Linked DNA regions of Homo sapiens: region 1 is linked to region 2. The links are contacts of gene promoters, found by promoter capture Hi-C in blood cells and fetal thymus (Javierre and others, 2016). All regions are on one chromosome and are shown on one strand. Each heading gives the region's core, a stretch centred on a gene start or on the middle of the fragment in contact. The rest is flanking DNA. Distances are from core to core; before and after follow the strand shown.

What was found. Contacts are between HindIII fragments. The CHiCAGO score rates a contact against its expected background, and 5 or more counts as called.
Region 1: the fragment with the promoter of WDR20 here is called in contact with the fragment with the promoter of BAG5 in region 2 in 1 of 17 cell types (neutrophils); the score reaches 5.6 in neutrophils.

What each region holds. Positions count from the first base shown.
Region 1 is chr14:102,137,968-102,141,768 of GRCh38, forward strand. WDR20 (WD repeat domain 20) reads left to right here and starts at 1,930. Exons shown (of 3, transcript NM_144574.4): 1 at 1,930-2,205. The coding sequence starts at 1,957. It also overlaps a transcript of HSP90AA1 not described here. RefSeq lists a silencer at 1,170-1,365 and enhancers at 1,966-2,015, 2,026-2,185. The HindIII fragment of the contact is 7,184 bases long and covers 813-3,801 here.
Region 2 is chr14:103,560,914-103,564,617 of GRCh38, forward strand. It overlaps BAG5 (BAG cochaperone 5), which reads right to left and starts at 1,744. Exons shown (of 2, transcript NM_001015048.3): 1 at 1,703-1,744; 2 at 1-279. The coding sequence starts at 251. COA8 (cytochrome c oxidase assembly factor 8) reads left to right here and starts at 2,047. Exons shown (of 5, transcript NM_001370595.2): 1 at 2,047-2,211. The coding sequence starts at 2,089. RefSeq lists enhancers at 349-862, 962-1,011 and a silencer at 1,352-2,001. The HindIII fragment of the contact is 16,544 bases long and covers 1-3,704 here.

The DNA of each region.
Region 1 (3,801 bases), core at 680-3,179, 1.4 Mb before region 2:
TTGCACCACTGCACTCCAGCATGGCGACAGCGAGACTCCATCTAAGAAAAAAAAAACAAAACTAAACCAAAGGCTATGCATGAGACAAAGTGAACAGTTTATTACTGTGATTATAATAAAATGTTGAATTTATATAGGGTAAAATCTTGATAGAATGCTTGAATTATATAGGTATTATGGGAAATACAATGTTATGGTTAATTGAAGAATAATACAAAATTTTGTTTTAACTTTTGCTCGCTGGGTTTTTTTCCCCCCCCAAAAATTATACTTTTTTTCCTCTTGATAATTAGGAAACACAGATAAATTATTTTTAGATGATTCAAGATGCCACTATCCTTCAAGTTGATTATTGTAAAATACGTGTTTTCAATGTAAAATAACACAGTTATGGAGTTTGGGATATAGCCATGGTAACGACAGAACATACCCTGGTGTTTTAAGATTAGGGAAAGTCGGATAACATCAAAACAATTCTAAGAAAAAATTTTAAGTATTTTTCAGGCTCTATTAATTAAGAAGTACTTCAGTGCTTTTTTTTCTTTTTTTTTTCCAACACTACAAAGGCTAAAGATGTTATTATCAAATGTATTACTACATCATTGGCACAGTTTCTATTGGTATCTACTTGCTTTTTAATACGGAAGATGTTTATGATTTACACTCCTCCTACTTTAGAAATTCTCTCCATTCACTTCTTTTGTGCCCCTCCAGATATAATCTGAACTTCCAGGAATAGATCATTCTTGGTGTTACAAATGTTGGCTTCCCCCCTCCCTGGAATTCTATTAGAATGTTTCTGTCACTTTAGAAGCTTTCTTATTCTGGTGTAACATGCCAAGAAACCCAGGTATAAAATAGTGATTGTTGAATCTTACTTTGACACGTGTGCCCGTCCTTATAAATCTAGACCCTGTACATTACATGCATACAACTATCCCTATGGATCTACTAGTAAATAATCTCACAGACTCCACCTGAGGCTTCTGGAAAAAAAAACAATTACCTTAAATTTTATTAAGAGCTCTTCGTAACCTACTGAGCAAGATCAGTGAATCCTAAAAAGATTCAGTCCCCGGTTCCCAAAGCGCTTCCCCGCCCCGTGTTTCTGAACAGCTGGAGAGGACAAACCTCCGCTAAGAAGCGGAGGCCGCCAGTGCTCATCACACGCAGGAATTAGGATATCTGGCTTGAGAACACCTATGCTGTACCACATTCTTCTCTCCCCCTACCCCGCCTGAAATAAAACATAGTGAAGCGTAAATCTTGAGTCCCTTGGTACCTTCTCAGAAACGGCGGCGAGGAGGCTTCAGAGGGGCTTCCTGGGCGGGGATCCAGACGGTCGCGCGGGTATTCAGCACTCTGGGCGGGACAGTCCCTGTCCCGAAGGGAGGGCCCAGGAGGGGTGGAGCCGTCCCCGCCCGAACACGGGGGCATCCGCGCTCCCCGTAGGGTACCCCGCGTGCTGGCTCCGAAGCGGTGGCCGTCGGGGTGGCGCTCTTCCTCCGCTCTTTGGGGTCCCGGCGCCCCTCAGGGCAGGGCGGGAGACCGCTGAGGAGGCACCCTCAAGTTCACCTCAGGCTCATGACACCAGCCCCGCCGCGGTTCCCCCTGACCGGCTTTCCGCTGGCCCTGGCGGCTGCGGAACGGTCAACTAGACCCCACTAGCTGAAGCCGGCATCACCTGGGAAGCAGCCATGCCGCCCGGAGGCCACACCCGGGGGAGGAGCCTGCGGACGCCCAGTCGGGTGGAGCACGCCAGGTGAGCACGCCTGCGCAGTCGGGCCGTAAACAAGCCCACCCCTTCCCTTTGGCCCGCCCTCGCAGGGCTGGCCCGCGGGTGGGAGGGGCGAGAAGGAAGAGGCAGGGGGTGGGGGAAGAGGGAGCACCAGGAACAGCGCCTGCGCGGTGGGCGTGATCCGGGCACTTAGGGCAGGATGAACGCTGCTTTCCAAGATGGCGACGGAGGGAGGAGGGAAGGAGATGAACGAGATTAAGACCCAATTCACCACCCGGGAAGGTCTGTACAAGCTGCTGCCGCACTCGGAGTACAGCCGGCCCAACCGGGTGCCCTTCAACTCGCAGGGATCCAACCCTGTCCGCGTCTCCTTCGTAAACCTCAACGACCAGTCTGGCAACGGCGACCGCCTCTGCTTCAATGTGGGCCGGGAGCTGTACTTCTATATCTACAAGGGGGTCCGCAAGGTACCGACCCGGGCGTCACCGGAGCCAGCCAGCGGCGTAGGCAGAGGCCGGGAGCAGGGCGGTGACAGTGGGGCCAGGGTGACCGAGAGGGGTGGCCGTCGCTCTTACTTTTGAGTGGGCCGGTAACTCCACTGGGGTACTCCTGAGGAGAGGGGATTCAGGAGTAAGGAGGGTGGTGGCGGTGGCGTTTCGAAGGGGTGGGGGCAGTGGAAAGGGACCGTGGGGCGCGGGGGTTCTGGCTGGGAGGCTCCCGGGGGAGCCGGCTGCGTCCCCTCCAGCCTGGTCCATCAGGCTCTGACATGGCCAGGGAGCGGGCCTGCGAGTCCCCGGAAGAGGTGAGGTGGCCGTCTTGTCTGCTTCGATTGCCTCGCCTCCCTGGAGGGTTGGAAGTCTCGCCCTGGGTTAGAGAACAGGGACGCAAGACGGCTTAACAAGATCTCTGTAAGGCGGAACCGGGGCCGGGAAGCGGAGCATTGAGACTAGGTCAGAAAGAACCTGCTCGGCACGCAGGGCTACTCCACCTGCTGCCGCACTGACACTTCCTAGGAGCCTCTCCTGGTGTTAACATTTCTATTTCCAAAAACATCCGCGGGAGGACGGCTGTCACTGTCTCCGCCGTGGGGACCTTCTGAAAGATTGTTAAGGAGAGTCATCTTGTCCCTTGTAGTATGCGAAGGGCTGAGTACTACAGTTGAAATGATGTTTCCAGTGAACTAAGCTGGTTCAGAGGGGTTGTGTGAGAGTGCCCAGATTAATCTTGTCCAACAAGTCAGACTGTGTCCCAAACAGGGAGTGATATGCTTTAAAAGCTGCTTTAAAGGGACCATCCTTCTTGGCGGGCGAGTTACCGGTAATTCTGTGAAACATGTAAGCATCCTTTAAAAGTATCTCTTTAAAAGCAGCCATTTATTAGAGTTTTTCTTTCATTGGCTATGTAACTATGTTTTCACTGAGAATTGCTTATTTTTGAGATTGTAGTCTTTGACTTGATGTCATGGAAGAGTGAGGAAATTAATGCATCCCACAGCACCTCCAAATAGGACAAGGTGATAAAAGATTAAGTCGTAAATGCATGTTAGCATGAAAATAAATTGTTCATATTGAAGAGTGAACATTCTTCAGGATTTAATATAGCCAGATCCAGTACAGGATTTTCGCTTGTTACAAGAGCTAGGGAAATGACAGTGGTATCTAAATGTAGCAAAGTTGTTTCTTTGATTCAGGGTGAATCTTTTTTTCTTAGTCTTTATGATAATAAGTGTACCACTGTATTTAGGGTATGCTGTTGGAAGTTATTAAGGGTAAATCGCTTGACCTTTTTTTTTTCCTCGTTTGGAATTGCAAAAGCTCGAAGTAGTCTTCAGTCTAGGGGCTGAAGTTTTACTCCTACTCCCAACTTTGTCACTGACTTGTTTGGGTGACCTTGGATAAGTTATTTAACTTCTATTTGCACCTCTTTAAAAAGGGAATGTTACAGTGCACGTTGTAATTAATAATATAATAATCATAATGAACTTTAAGGCCCTGAAACACTCAGTAGATGTAAAATATAGTTAAATACTGACTGTCAAATAAGAAGCTGCTGTCTTGACATTG
Region 2 (3,704 bases), core at 494-2,993:
TGCTCCAACTCTTTGAGAAGACGTTCTGTCTCCTGTGCTGCCCGCTTCCTAGCTTGCTGAATATCTCCTTTTCCTTCAGTATCTACAGAGTCTATTTCAAAAAGCTGTTTTGTTAGAATCCTCTCCAGTTTCTTGTAATTCTTGTCATCTGACAGACCACTGAAGCCGATAACTTGCTGTTCTACACTTTTTACTTCCTTTTGGATTTCCTGAAGCCTACTAATAGAAGGATGTTGGTTTCCCATATCCATACTTTTGTTGTGTTCAGTTTCACAAGCACTAAAAGACGACAAGAATGATAACTTACTACAGCACAAGGCTTCTGCAGAACACTAATGGTATATTAAGTCATTCTAAAATTCTCATTTTAAAAAGGTATACTTCTGAGCAGTCATCCCACCTCAGCCTCCCCAGTAGCTGGGTCTACAGTCGTACACCACTACGCCCAGCTAATGTTATTTTTAGTAGAGACAGGTCTCACTATATTGCCCAGGCTGGTCTCAGACGATCCGCCCGCCTCCGCCTCCCAAAGTGCTGGGATTAAGGTGTGAGTCACCGTACGCGACACAAACTATTTGGAACCAGCAGGGCACCTTTATGAAAGGTGAAACAGTAGCTCTTGTAACCTTCCGAACACTAACAGTACCCCGCCCCGCCACACAGCTATGCCTAGTTTCCAGAAACTCTAAGCAAAAGAAAGAACCAGAACAAAAACCAGTGGCTCTCAGACATCCCCAAGGTCCCCGCTTCTTCGTTTCTCTCCATCCCTTTGTGCACTTCCCCTCCCCACCCTTTTAGCTCCTCACACATCTTCCCTCACAGAAGTCTCCCTGAAGAGATTAAAACCCCACAGGTAAAGAAGAGCGACCGGGACAGCGCTGAAGGGCACCACCTTGGGCTTTCGAGGCCCAACACCTCCTCAGCCCCCAACATGCTCCACTCTCTCAAAAAAAAACAACCCGCGAAAACGTGGTAACTATGAATAATTCATTCACTCGCCTCCCACTGGGAGTCCACAATGGCCTAATGCACGTTTCAAGCTCTTGGTTTCTATCAAACGGCTCGCTCAAGGTGGGTAACCAATGGAAACGCATAATCTATCCCCGGCGGATGTCCTGGAGGCCACGGAGGGAAGGCGGCCCGAGCTGCTTCCTCCCCGCCTCGCCCTTCCCTCTTGGCCCTTTACCCAAAAGAAGTCTGAATTGGATGCGGTCTTGGCGTCCCGTGGCTGAGGTGGCGAGGTGGAAGATCAGCCCTTTACGGGGTGCGGCACCGGAGCTGGGCCCCCAGCTGCATGCCTCGCACCCCTCCCGACTAGGTCTGAGCGGGGCAGCCGGTGAAGGGGCCGCTACTGGCTGCAGCAGCCGCTCCGGGCGTCTTGGCCCGGGTGCCAGGGCGCGCCTGCAGGACGTGACCTCACAATGGGCGCGCGAGGGGAGCTCGGCCCGGCCGGGGGAAGCCGGGGGAGGAGGGGAACCGAGGCCCGGCCGGAGACACCAGAGACCAGGCCCGGCCAGCCCCGGTCGCTTCCGACCCCAGGGGCGGGGACAGCGCCGAGACCGACTCTGCCCTGCCTGATCCGACAGGCCGCACGGGGCTGGGCGCTGGCGAAGGGGTGGCCCAGCGGGGAGCCCCGCGCGGAGGTGGTGCCCCACTCGTCCCCCCGAGAGAGGGAAAAGGCTACAAGCCGCGCTTCGCTCACCTGTCCCGCCCGCGCCATCGCGCGATGCGTCGCCGACGCTTCCACGACTTCCGCAGCTCCGGCAGTCGCCCGGGCCCGGCAGCCCCGCCCCTGGCCGAACACCCCTAAACCCGGGGACACCTCCTCCGGCGTCCGCGCCTAGCCGCCGGCAGCGCCACGCCCACCGCCAGCGGCGCAGCGAGGCAGCCTGGAGTGACCGCGACCAAGGAGCGGCCGCCCGGGTCAGCCCGCGCCGCCCGCCGCCCCCTCACCCCGTCGCACCGCTGGGAAAGCGCACGGTCGGCCGCGCCGCCGCGCTTCCTCGGGCTTCGCGACCCTGCCGTAAAGCGGCCCCTCGCGCCGTCGCAATGCTGCCGTGCGCCGCGGGAGCCAGGGGGCGTGGGGCCATGGTGGTCTTGCGGGCGGGGAAGAAGACCTTTCTCCCCCCTCTCTGCCGCGCCTTCGCCTGCCGCGGCTGTCAACTCGCTCCGGAGCGCGGCGCCGAGCGCAGGGATACGGCGCCCAGCGGGGTAAGCAGGGGCCTGGGGACATTGGGCCGGGAGGGGTGACCGGAAGGGAAGACAAACCCGGGCCTCGGGGCCACTCCCTGTTCTGCACAGCCGCCTCAGGCCTTTGTCCAGGTGCTCTCGCGTCCTATCCCGAACAGTCCCGCAGCCCCGAGGCTCCCGCATCAACGCCCTCAGTCGGATGGGACTGAGGGTGCCGCCGCCACCACGCCGGGGACTGTTGACAGCCAGAACCTTTAAGCGTAACAGAGTCACCTGGCAAGTTTGTACCTACCTTATTTGTTCCCGAGAATGATTATTTTTTATTTTTAAAGAGCTCTTGGCTTACCGTGCGTTTTTTTTCGTTGTGTGTGTGTGTGTTTTGGCTTTGTTACAATTATTAGTGCTTTTCTTCAAGCGGCGAGCACTTTATCATCGTACTTTTGTAGCACTTCACGTTGAATAGTTGTTATTTGCAAACTATGTGTGGGTATATGCATGTTACTGGCCAAAGATCCGCAAAGAATGTCTGTAGCAAGAATGTCTGTGGCAAGCAATTTTTATAAGTGGTACTTTTGGGAGGGATGTTTTGTTTAAGGGAGGCCTAGGCCTTGATTCCGTCTGTCAGATGAAAATGTTGACTAACGGTGTGGAATGGGCTGGAGATAAAATATTCAAGCAAAGCATGCAAATACCAAACAGGCTAATGAAGGAGGCTGGAAAACTTGGTTTAAACAATAATTAAAGAAGTATTAAAAAAGTGTTAATTAAAAATTGGACGGGCTCCGTGGCTCACGCTTGTAATCCCAGCACTTTGGGAGGCCGAGGCAAGCGGATCACGAAATCAAGAGGTGAGACCATCCTGCCCAACATGGTGAAACGTCTCTGCTAAAAATACAGAAATTAGCTGGGCATAGTGGCGCGCGCCTGTAGACCCAGCTACTCGGGAGGATGAGGCAGGAAAATCGCTTGAACCCGGGAGACGGAGGTTGCTGTGAGTCGAGATCGCGCCACTGCACTCCAGCCTGGCGACAGAGGGAGACTTCATCTCAAAAAAAAAAAAGCTAATTAAAAATTGCAAATGTACTTGCTTGTACATTTTCATTTCTGTTGGGCTGTGGCTGTTAGTACACTTTCATAATTGTAGCTTTGAAGGTCTATCTAGTTTACAATTTAAACAAGGAGTTACCAGGGCAACTTGCCAACCAGACACCCAAGTGGCTAGCTCAGTTCTGTGTTACAGTGACCAAGTCCTTGCCTTCTATCCCTAGAACATAGAAACCCACCCAGCATCTCTATCTTTGGGCAGAAAGATAGAGCAGGTGTCTGAAAATGCTCTAAGAGAGCAAACGGGAAATCAACCAAGACATTTCCCGGGCGGGGGGGATTTTCCCTAGCTTATTTTGTGAACTTGTGCTGGAAAGAAACAACAGCACCCAAATAAGGATTTCTCTATTGTCATATACACTTCTTTTTTTTTTTTTTTTTTTTTTTTTTGAGTTGGAGTCTCCCTCTGT